2 separate regions of the Homo sapiens genome follow, and region 2 is linked to region 1. The links are contacts of gene promoters, found by promoter capture Hi-C in human tissues and cell types (Jung and others, 2019). All regions are on one chromosome and are shown on one strand. The core of a region is centred on a gene start or on the middle of the fragment in contact, and the rest is flanking DNA. Distances in the headings are between cores, read along the strand shown. Region 1 holds the start of KRT74 (keratin 74). Region 2 has its middle 13 kb from the start of KRT6A.

What was found. Contacts are between HindIII fragments. The study calls those that stand out against the background at their distance.
Region 2: a contact is called between a fragment that was not itself captured here and the fragment with the promoter of KRT74 in region 1, in 5 of the 25 tissues and cell types used here (bladder, heart left ventricle, heart right ventricle and 2 more).

Annotation. Positions count from the first base shown.
Region 1 is chr12:52,570,516-52,575,907 of GRCh38, forward strand. KRT74 (keratin 74) reads right to left here and starts at 3,328. Exons shown (of 9, transcript NM_175053.4): 1 at 2,792-3,328; 2 at 1,938-2,152; 3 at 1,429-1,489; 4 at 844-939; 5 at 154-318. The coding sequence starts at 3,262. RefSeq lists an enhancer at 1,753-1,922. The HindIII fragment of the contact is 9,071 bases long and covers 1-5,392 here.
Region 2 is chr12:52,503,182-52,508,411 of GRCh38, forward strand. No RefSeq gene overlaps it. Among named protein-coding and RNA genes, the nearest start is that of KRT6A, 13 kb to the left of the region's middle. The HindIII fragment of the contact is 4,691 bases long and covers 56-4,746 here.

The sequences.
Region 1 (5,392 bases), core at 2,078-4,577:
GCTCTGCTAAGAATTCCTTTTTTCCTTGAAGCCTTGGTTGGAACCTTTCTTTCATTCAGCATGCCCACAAAAGTATTCCTCACATTCACTGTGCAGGTGACCCCTCCCAGGAAGCGAAGGGCTGCTGTGGGAGGAGACCCATTCGGTGACCACCTTGGTCTGGTACAGGGCCTCGGCCTCGGCCTTGCTCTTCAGGGCGATCTCCTCATAATGCATGCGGACCTCAGCGATGATGCTGTCAAGGTCCAGGTCCCGGTTGTTGTCCATGGACAGGATGACAGAGGTCTCACTGGCGTGAGTCTGGATCTGAGCGATCTCCTGCATTGAGAGAGGAAGACAGATTCAGCAACCCCCTGGCTTCCCTCTTCTGCCCCATCAGTCTTCTGGGCCCATGGTCCCTGGCCCAATAGGCTGCTAGGATCCACGGGGACAAAGTAGGGGGAAGAAGTGCCCTCTGGGATGTGTCTGCAGAGCTGAGGGAGAGCAGCTAACAGCAGCAGGAACCCCTGCATATGGCAGATGCCCGCTGGCACATGCAGACGGGTGAATAATGCATTTTCCACAATTTCACAGAATCCAAGGCTCTGTGCTTTGTAAGACCTCACTGGGTTATCTTTTCCTGCCCGTGGGCAAGTCCACTATTGTATCAAGATCAATTTCCTCCTGTATGTATGGCCTCCAAGGACCAGCATCCTGCACTTCCATGGTCTCCTGGTGCAGGGTTTTGTACCTTTCTACCAAAACATCTTTCATTTTGTTGATCCTAAATCTCTCCTTTTGGTATCTCCCTGGAAGAGTCGGGAAGGAGGCAGGGTGAGGGTGGGGGGACAGGAGTGTCCTTACTGCATCATACAGACACTTGAGGAACTTGATTTCTTTGTCCAGTGAGTCCACTTTGGCCTGAAGCTCCACCTTGACTGCGTAGGCTGCATCTGCATCCTGCCAAGAGGCCCCAGAGTCATTGGGGGATGCAACCCTCATCCCACAGCTGCCCTGCCCAACTCCTGCCTCAAAGCCACCTGATTTTCTATTTTCTACCCACAAAGGAAAGCTCACTCAATATCAATTTCTTCTCAGGCTGCCTGAAGCTTTGGGAATAGGGAAAGGAGGATGGGGCAGCTCTGTTATGCCTGGAGAAAACAAAGCCCAGAGAGGTAGTAGGTTTCCTCAGGTCACACAGCAAGGTTGAGCTGGACCCGAGTTTCACAGTTCCCAGACCAGAATTCTGTCTGTCTCTGTCCATTTCCTGAGTGTGTGTCTTTCCTCTCCAACTCACTGGAGGCCAGGACTATGACTCCACCCTCACCAGGCACCAGCCCCCTCACCAGGCACCAGCCCCCTCCCCAGCCTCCTGGGCTGAAGTCCTGAGCAGAGTTGTTAAGATGGGGGTGCGAGAGACCCTAATAAGGAGGCTCCTCCCTCTCTTACCTTCTTAAGCACCACAAACTCATTCTCTGCTGTCGTGCGCCGGTTAATCTCCACTTCATATCTGCCAGCAGGGAGAGTAGATGGCCTTAGCCCCCTTAGCCAAGGAACTTTCTCTTCCTGCTGGCCAGGCAAATGTTTGGGATACAGGGTCCCTGCAGGGTCTCTGGGGTGAGCAGTAAGAGGCTAGTGACAGGAGTAAGATATCCCTGAGTTGCTTCACTTGTCTCCTAGTTTTTGCATGTTAGGAAAACACCCAGGTGCCTATTGGGCTCCCGACACCAGCAACTGAACATTTCAGTGGGTCAAGGAGCACAGGAACCGCTTCCTATCAACTAGGCAGGAAGTTATCATCAAAGAGGATAGGCCCTTCCCCCTAGCCAGAGAAAGGGATGTGAGCTCCTGACCCTGGTGCATACTCCCCCATCTCCTAAAAAATAATGGCACAGAGATCAGGTGAGCCCAGAGGCACGGGAAACATGGTCTGTGACCCTCGGGTGGAGCCTGCTCACCTCTTCTTATAGTCCTCCACCAGATCCCTCATGCTTCTCAGCTCCGAGTCCAGCCTCACCCTGTCCCCAGACAGTGTCTCCAGCTGCTTCCGCAGGTTGCTGATGTAGCCCTCAAGGATGGGCTCCAGGTTCTTCTTGCAGTTGTTCAGGTCCAGCTGCTGCAGCAGCTCCCACTTGGTTTCTAGAACCTGGTTCTGCTGCTCTAGGAAGCGTACCTGGAACCCAAATCAACAGACACCTGGAACCACAATGGGTGCAGTCATGCCCCCTGGACACACACCATTGACTCCCCAGGTTTGCCATAGATTGTTGTAGTCATTTTTGCTCATGTCTTGACTCTCCACCCTTGCCATTCCACACAAACTAGATCCTTTACAAGTGCTCATTTCCTAGCCTTCTGGACAAGGCATCACTGAGAACTCACTCAAGGAGTTTCCACAGCTTTCTTCTATTGCTCGGCCCTGGTCCCAGGAGATGTCCTTCCTTATGTCTCAACTAAGTGTCTCTTCCTGTACCATGAGCCCTTCCCTCTGAACACTGCTGGATTCTATTAGCCTTTCATGTTCTTGGAAGATCCAGCTGTCCTCAAGAAACTCATCACTTTTTTGTCAAGGAAGGGCTGCTCTTTACCCAGCTTCCCATCCTTCCCTGCAAAATCGCCAAAGAAGCCGATATATTCATGTATTCCTTTGTCCTCCGTGGCTCACAGACCTACTCTCCTTCCCTAATGGTGAGGAAGCCCTTCCTGAGGCCCAGCTGCACCTTTCCAGCCACAGTGTGCAGTCCATTCCCAGGCAGCAGGAAAACTGCTCAGGCCTCAGGGTGCGGCCTCATCCTCCTCCTATGAGACCCACCTTGTCAATGAAGGAGGCGAACTTGTCGTTCAGCACCTTGATCTGTTCCCGCTCCTGGGCGCGCACCTTCTGGATCTCAGGGTCCAGCTCCACGTTGAGGGGGGCCAAGAGGCTCTTGTTGACAGTGACCTGGTGGATGCCCCCAGGTGGGCACACAGACAAACATGCAGGCCCCAGGGCCACACTGCCAAACATACTGCCAGCAAAGCCACTGGCCCGGCCCCCTCCATACCCAGAGCCAGGCCTGAAGCCGTAACCTCCAGCCCGAACGCCGCCACCAGCCACATTGAAAGAAATACGCCGATTCCCTCCAAGGCTATAGAGGCTCCGACTGCCAAAGCCAGCGCCAGCCCCTCTGCCAGCTGCACAGTAAGAAGCCAGGCTACCCACAGCCTTCCTTGGCACCACTGCCGAATGCACACTGAAGTTGCCCTTGTCACCACTGGACTTGATGTTCAGTTGCCGACTCATGGTGGGAAAGGTTGAGTTGACAGAGCTGGAGAAAAGCAGTCTCCAAGGGGTAGAGAACACACTGATGGGGCACCCAGAGTGCTGCCTCCTTTTATCCCTGTTGAGCCCAGGACACCGGAAAAGGGCGTCTCTCCACTATCTCCTTTCCCCTGCTGATGGGCCAGGGGCCATGGGCAATTTGTAGAACAGAGATCTCCAAGCCCTTTGCAGCAACAAAGCTCTTCTGATAGCAAGTGGAATATGCTGCCCTTGCAGAGTGGAGTGGTCTAATTTGGAGTTTATCTGTGCTCCCTAATTAAGGACCTGAAGAGTTATCCCCTGAAGAGATCTCCTAGCTTTATTTTTCCAGTGCTACCTCCTTCTTGCTTAACCATCAGCAAGGAGCAGGGGAAATGCCTGGCTTTCCCCAGAGTAGACTCACCTGAAAAACCCCAGGTTTCTTCCCAAAAGAAACCATCTCTCTATTATAGGGTCTTGTGTGGAAGCTGGAATTTTTACCTCAGGGAAAAGAAGACATGGAAAGATGATTCTTCTTGGAAAGATGTCCTCAAAGATCTGGATCTGGGTAAGAAGCTCCAGGGTCCGTCCTTGGGCCATGCTAAGGACCACAGCTGTCTAGCAGTGAAGTGGACCCCAGGAAGGAAGAGGAATGACTCTGCAGCATCTGCATGCCCCCCTAGCAGGGATATTGTCTAGGGCCTTCTGTGTTGGGCAGGGCCTGGGTGGTGGTGACCTTGACATTGCCTTACAACCATGAGAACCTTTCCAGTCAGCTGCATTTCCTCCAGTTGGATTTTCTCTCCTGGATAAGATTATTTGTCCTACTCTAGGAAGTCAGGCAGGAGCTGGGATATTAGCCCCTGCACTCCCTGGGGAAACACCCTATGGCTGAAGTCACCAAGGAACAGGACCCCCTGAGTTTCACTCCCAGGTTCAGGGTGGGCTGTTCTGCCAGTTTCCTGGCAACTTCAGGGAGCACTCAATTTTCAAACAGGAAGTATCACTGCTTTATAGCTCAGGTAGTGTGGGTACAGTGCAATGTTAAAAAATTATTTCAGGGCTGGGCATGGTGGCTCACACCTGTAATCCCAGCACTTTGGGAGGCCAAGGAGGGCAGATTGCCTGAGGTCAGGAGTTTGAGTCCAGCCTGGCTAACATGGTGAAACCCCGCCTCTACTAAAAATACAAAAATCAGCCGAGCGCAGTGGTGCATGCCTGTAGTCGCAGCTACTCAAAAGACTGAAGTAGAAGAATCACTTGAACCTGGGAGGCAGAGGTTGCAGTGAGCCTAGATTGTGCCACTGCACTCCAGCCTGGGCAACAGAGCAAGACTCTGTCTCCAAAAAACAAAAAAAATTATTTCAAAGCTAGGTATCTGGCAGCTGCCCTCATGCAAGACTCTGACCACTTCCTATAACTAAACTGAGAACACTTGGCTTGTTTGGATCCAGCCGAGGGCAGAAGACAACTGCTCCCACTGCTGGGGAGGGAAAAGGAGAAGCTGACCTGGGCAGGGAGCGTGGAGCTTAGGCCTGGAAGCTGCCCCGGAAGAATTTCCCCTTCACAGGGTGTTTTCCTCTCAGCCCCTGAGGTAACGGTGGAAGGTCCTTCCCCAGGGACCCTGTCTCGGGGGGCTTTCCCGGCAGGGCCTAGCCCTACAGCACAGGAGCATGTAATCGAAGGGGTTGCTTGTGGTTTTCTAAGTCAGGTTGCAAGGGCAGCAGCAGGGGTGCCGCCAGATGCTGGGTTTGCCGCCCTCCTGTGCTGGAGTGTGCAAGACAAAAAATGGCGTGAGTTCCTTAACCTGGGGGTGACTGTCCTAGGGCCCCAGCCACCAAGAAGCCTGCAGACCAATGAGAGGAATCTACACAAAGAACTTAAAGTAGAGCCAAAGCTCTGGAATGACAGAAAAGCATTATGAACCACGAATCAGAGGTGCACTGAGGAATGGCTCATCTTGATTAGGGTTTTTGGGGATCTCCAGAAGCCAGGCTTATATTCCCAACAACGCCCACTACAGGTGCTGGCTCAGAGTAGTGGCTCAGAGGTAGTGGGGCTGGAAGTATTCCTTATGGCAGTAGTAGCAATAGTGGTAGTAACATCATTGTATAATAGTGATGGTAGTAACAG
Region 2 (5,230 bases), core at 1,151-3,650, 68 kb before region 1:
AGCAGGAAAGCTTCTAGTTTCTCACCATTAAGTATAATCTTAGCACAGGTTTTCTGTAAATGTTCTTTATCAAGTTGTAAAATTTCCCCTCTCCTCCAAGCTTACTAAGAGTTTGCATTATAAATGGTGTTGGATTTTGTGAAATTGTTTTTCACAATACACCTATTGATATAATCATGTGTTTTTTTTTCTACGGCCTATTGTTGTGATTGATTACATTAACTGATGTTCAAATGTTGAACCAGTCTGTCATACGTGGAATAAATGTCACTTGGTCATGGTGTATAATTCTTTTATAATTCTTTTTATGCATTGTTGGATTTGATTTGCTAATATTTTATAGGGGATTTTTACAGCTATGCTTATGAGAGATAATGCTCTACAGTTTTCTGTTCTTGCAATATCTTTGTCTTGTTTTGGTATTAAGGTGATGCTGGCTTCATAGAATGAGTCAGAAAATGTTCTCTGTGTTCCTATCTTTGGAAAGAGATTATAGAGAATTGGTACAATTTCTCCTGTCAATGTTTGGTAGAATCCACCTGTGAACCCATCCAGGCCTGGATGGGTAAATAAATAACTTTTGGAAAGTTATTTACTATTGGTTCAATTTCTTTAGTCTATTTTTTCTTGTGTGAATTTTAGCAGATCATGTCTTTCAAAAAATTGGTTCATTTAATTTAGGTTATCATATTTGAGGATGTAGAGTTGTTTATAATATTTCTTCATTACCCTTTCAATCCCCATGGAATATATAGTGATGTCGATTTATTCATTTCTGATATTAGTAACTTTGTGTCCTTTCTATTGTTTTCTTAGCCTGGCTAGAAGCTTATCAATTTTACTGGTCTTTTCAAAGAAATCATTTTTGGTTCCATTAATTTTCTCTATTAATTTCCTGCTTTTAATTTCATTTATTTCTGCTCTAATCTGTATTACTTTTTTCTTCTACTTATTTTGAATTTAATTTCCTTCTTTTTTTCTAGGTTTCTAAGGTGGAATACATGCATTCAATATAAATTTCTCTCTAAACTCTATTTTTGTTGCATCCCATAAATTTTGGTGTCATATTTTCATTTTTATTTAGTTCAAAATATTTAAAAATGTATGTTCAGATTTCTTCCTTGACCCATGTGTTATTCAGAAGTTTGTTGTTTAATCTCCATGTATTTGGGGATTTTTTTTTTTTTTTTGAGATGGTCTCACTCTGTTGCCCAGGCTGGAGTGCAGTGGCGTGATCTCGGTTCACTGCAACCTCTGCCTCCTAGGTTCAAGCAATTCTCCTGCCTCAGCCTCCTGAGTAGCTGGGATTACAGGCATGTGCCACCACGTGCAGCTAATTTTTGTGTTTTTAGTAGAGATGGGGTTTCACCATGTTGGTCAGGCTGGTCTCTCACTCCTGATCTGGTGATCTGCCCATCTCAGCCTCCCAAAGTGCTGGAATTACAGGCATGAGCCAACATGCCTGGCCGTATTTGGGGATTTTTAAACTATCTTTCTGTTATTGATTTCTAGCTTACTTCTATTGTGGTCTGAGAGCATACATTGTATGATTTATATTTTTTAAAAAATTTTAAGGTATGTTTTATGGCCACAGTGTGAATGTTCTATGTGAGCTTGAGAAGAATGTGTATTCTGCTCTTGTTTGGTGAAGTGTTCTAAAGGTGTCAATTATATTGAGGTGATTGATGGTGTTTTTGAGTTCAACTATGTCCTTACTCATTTTCTAATAAAAAATCAATATAAATATTTTCTAATATAAAATAGTGTTGAAGTCTCTGATTAGAATAGTGGATTCCTCTGTTTCTCTACCCCATTATTCCATTGGTTTTTGCCTCACATATTTTGATGCTCTGTTGTTAAGCACGTACATATTACGGATAGTTATATCTTGGAATTAAGGATTATTATTGACACCTTTATCATTAGGTAATGCCCCTCTTTCTTACTGATAATTTTCCTTGCTATGAAGTCTGTCCTGTCCCAAATTAATACAGCTACTTCAGCTTTCTTTTAATTAGCATTAGCATGGTATGTCTTTTCTCCATCCCTTTACTTTTAATCATATATGTCTTTATATTTAAAAATGGGTTTGTTTTAGACAGCATACTGTTGGGTTTTGTTTTTTGATCCATTCTAACAATCTCTATCTTTAAGCTGGTGCATTTAGACCATCACCATTTAAAGTTATTATTGATATAGTTGGATTAATATCTACCATATTTCTTACTGTTTTCTAGTTATTGCTCTTGTTTTTCGTTCCTTTTTTGTCTCCCACTCTTTTTTCATCTTTTGTGGTTTTAACTGAGCATTTTATGATTCCATTTTCTCTCCTTTTTAGTATATCGGTTATACTTTTTTTTTTTTTTTTTACTTCTTTCAGTGGTTGCCCTAGAGTTTGCAATATACATTTACAACTAATCCAAGTCTACTTTCAAATAACACTATACTGCTTCATGGGTATTGCAAGTTCTTTGAAATAACCAAGTACAGTTGACCCTTGAACAACATGGGTTTGAACTGCATGGATCCACATATATGTAGAATTCACAAGATGCAATATCCAAGTATTATGAAGGGCCAACTTTTCTTTTCATGTAGAGGATCCTACAGGGCTGACAGTGGGACTTGCGTATGCCAGGATTTTGGTATATGTGCAGGGTCTTGGAATCAATCCCTGGCATATACCAAGGGGTGACCGTATCGCTAATTCCTCCCTCGCATCCTTTGTATCAATGCTGTCATTCATTTCACTTACACATAAAGTATAAACATTGAAGACATTGTTGCTATTATTATTTTGAACGAACATTTATCTGTTAGATCTTATTTCTTCTCTAATGCTTTTCCTTTCTTTATGTAGATCCGAGTTTCTGACCTATATAATTTTCCTTCTTGGTGAAGAGCTTCTTTTAACATTTCTTGCAAGGCAGGACTACTGGCAACATATTCTCTTCATTTTTGTTTGTCTTGAGAAAGTCTTTATTTTTTCTTCATTTTTGAAGGATAATTTAGCAAGATATAGAATTCCGTGTTGCTGTTTTCTCACCCAACAGTAAATATTTTACTCCAGTCTTTTCTTGCTTGCAAGGTTTCTGTGAGGAAGTGAGATTTAATTCTTATCTTTGTTCCACTATAGATAAGTTGTTTCCCCCCCAACCATGGCTTCTTTCAGGATTTTTGTTATCTTTCATTTTCTACAGTTTGAATATAATATACACAGGTATTTTTTTATGTCTGACACTAATTTTTGGAAATTCTCAGTCATTACTTTCTCCAATATTTATTATGTTGCTTTCTCTATTTCTTGTTCTAGTATTCCTTTTACACAAGTTACATCTTTCATAGTTTCCCCCACAGTTCTTGCATATTCTGTTCTTCTTTTCTCAGTCTTTTTTTATTTTTGCTTTTCAGTTGAGAAAGAACTGAAAAAACAGTTCTATTGACATACCCTCAAGCTCAGATTCTAATGTCAGCTGTGTCTAGTCTACTAATGAGCCCACAAAAGGCGTTCGTCATTTCTGTTATAATGTTTTTTATCTCTAGCATTTATTTTTTATTATTAGAATTTCTGTCTATCTGCTTTCATTACCCATCTGTTCTTGCATGTTGTGTACCTTGTTCATTTGTGCTCTTAGCTTGTTAATCATGGTTGTTTTAAATTCCCGATCTAATAATTCCAATATCCCTGCCATATCTGAGTGTGGTTCTGGTACTTGCTCTGTCTTTTCAAACTGTTTTCTACCTTGAAGTATGCTTTGTAATTTTTTTGTTGAAAATGGATGGAAGAAACTGATAAATAAGCTTTAGTAATGTAGTGATGAGGTATGAGGTGAGGGGAGGTATTCTATAGACCTATGAGTAGAATTAGGTCTCAGTCTTTTAGTGAGCCTGCGCCCCTTGGCTGTGAACTTCACAAGTGCTTCTGAGGCTTTTTTCACCTCTTTAAGTAGGGTCAGCATAGCTGGAGGGAGCTGGGGTTGGGTATTTCCCTTTCTCCAGCTAGACCAGGCTCTGATAAAACCTCAGCAGGGCTGCCTGTGGTTAAATAGTTGTTCCTGACGGCAGACTGCCTTAAGAACAGAATGCTCTGTCTATTTCAAAATGGTTCTTTGTCTGCTCCCCCTACTGGAAGCATGAGATTCTTCTCACATTTTCTCTGTGAGGACCTGGTGGAGCCCCTGGAGTAAAACTAAGTATGCTTCTCTAAGAGTGGGCTCCCCTGGAATTCTCAACACTCAAACTTATCCACACGGAGCCTCCGGCAATTTACCAATTATGGCTCAGGGTTTTCTACCCAAATACTGGTTCCTGTGGAGATTTCTGCTCATGGGTTACTACTCTGGTAAGTTGGGATTCTCTGTAATTGCTTCTTTAACTCTCCAGTTGGAAGGCAGTGGTTTGCCCTGTAATCTTAGTTCTCTGACAGATGAAGAAGAGTTGTTGCTTTTCATTTTTTCCATTTTTTACTTTTTGTTAGAATGTAGTGATGACTTTCAACCTCCTGAAGTGCCAGACCCCAAACTAAAAGTCCCTCTAGTCTCTCTTGCTCTTTAAATCAGAGCTGAGGTTTTCTACCCTTTGTTTCCCCTCTGTGCTGATACCTGTTCCACTGAGCTCCCATTGATCACCATCAAAAGATCAACGGTCATTATCACACAGACATGCAAACATCCTTCTCATGCTTCCATCTTATTACAGATACATGAGTCTGCTGTAATTCTGAGATGAAAATGACATATGCCACCCACTAAAAGCTGAAGCTCAATCTGGGTCCAGCTGCAGAGGAGCAGTCCTCTCTTCAATTCCCAACAGTCCTGCCCATCATAACTACACTCAGGAGTTCCCATCTGACAAATAAGTTGTCCTTATCTTCCCTTGCAGTGTCCCTGAATGGTGTGTGATGTACCTTCTGATGCAGTCTGCATTTCTGCACTGCTTTTCTTTGCTCTCTTTGCCTTCTTTTGTTCTGTTGAATAAAGGAGATTGAGAATATGAACTTTCTGTTAGATTGCCTTGCTGACCATGTGCTGGTTTAGAAACATTCTCATCCCACAAACATTCCTCATCTTTGAGGAACTGCCCCTCTCCACACCGACAACTCACCATGCTCCACACCCTACTCTGTCAGTCAGTGATTCTGGAGGACACTCTGGGTGGACGATCACCAATGTTGTATAAGCCCCAAAAGCTGTTAGGACAAGTTCCCGGTGTGCCAGGCAAAGTCTGTTCT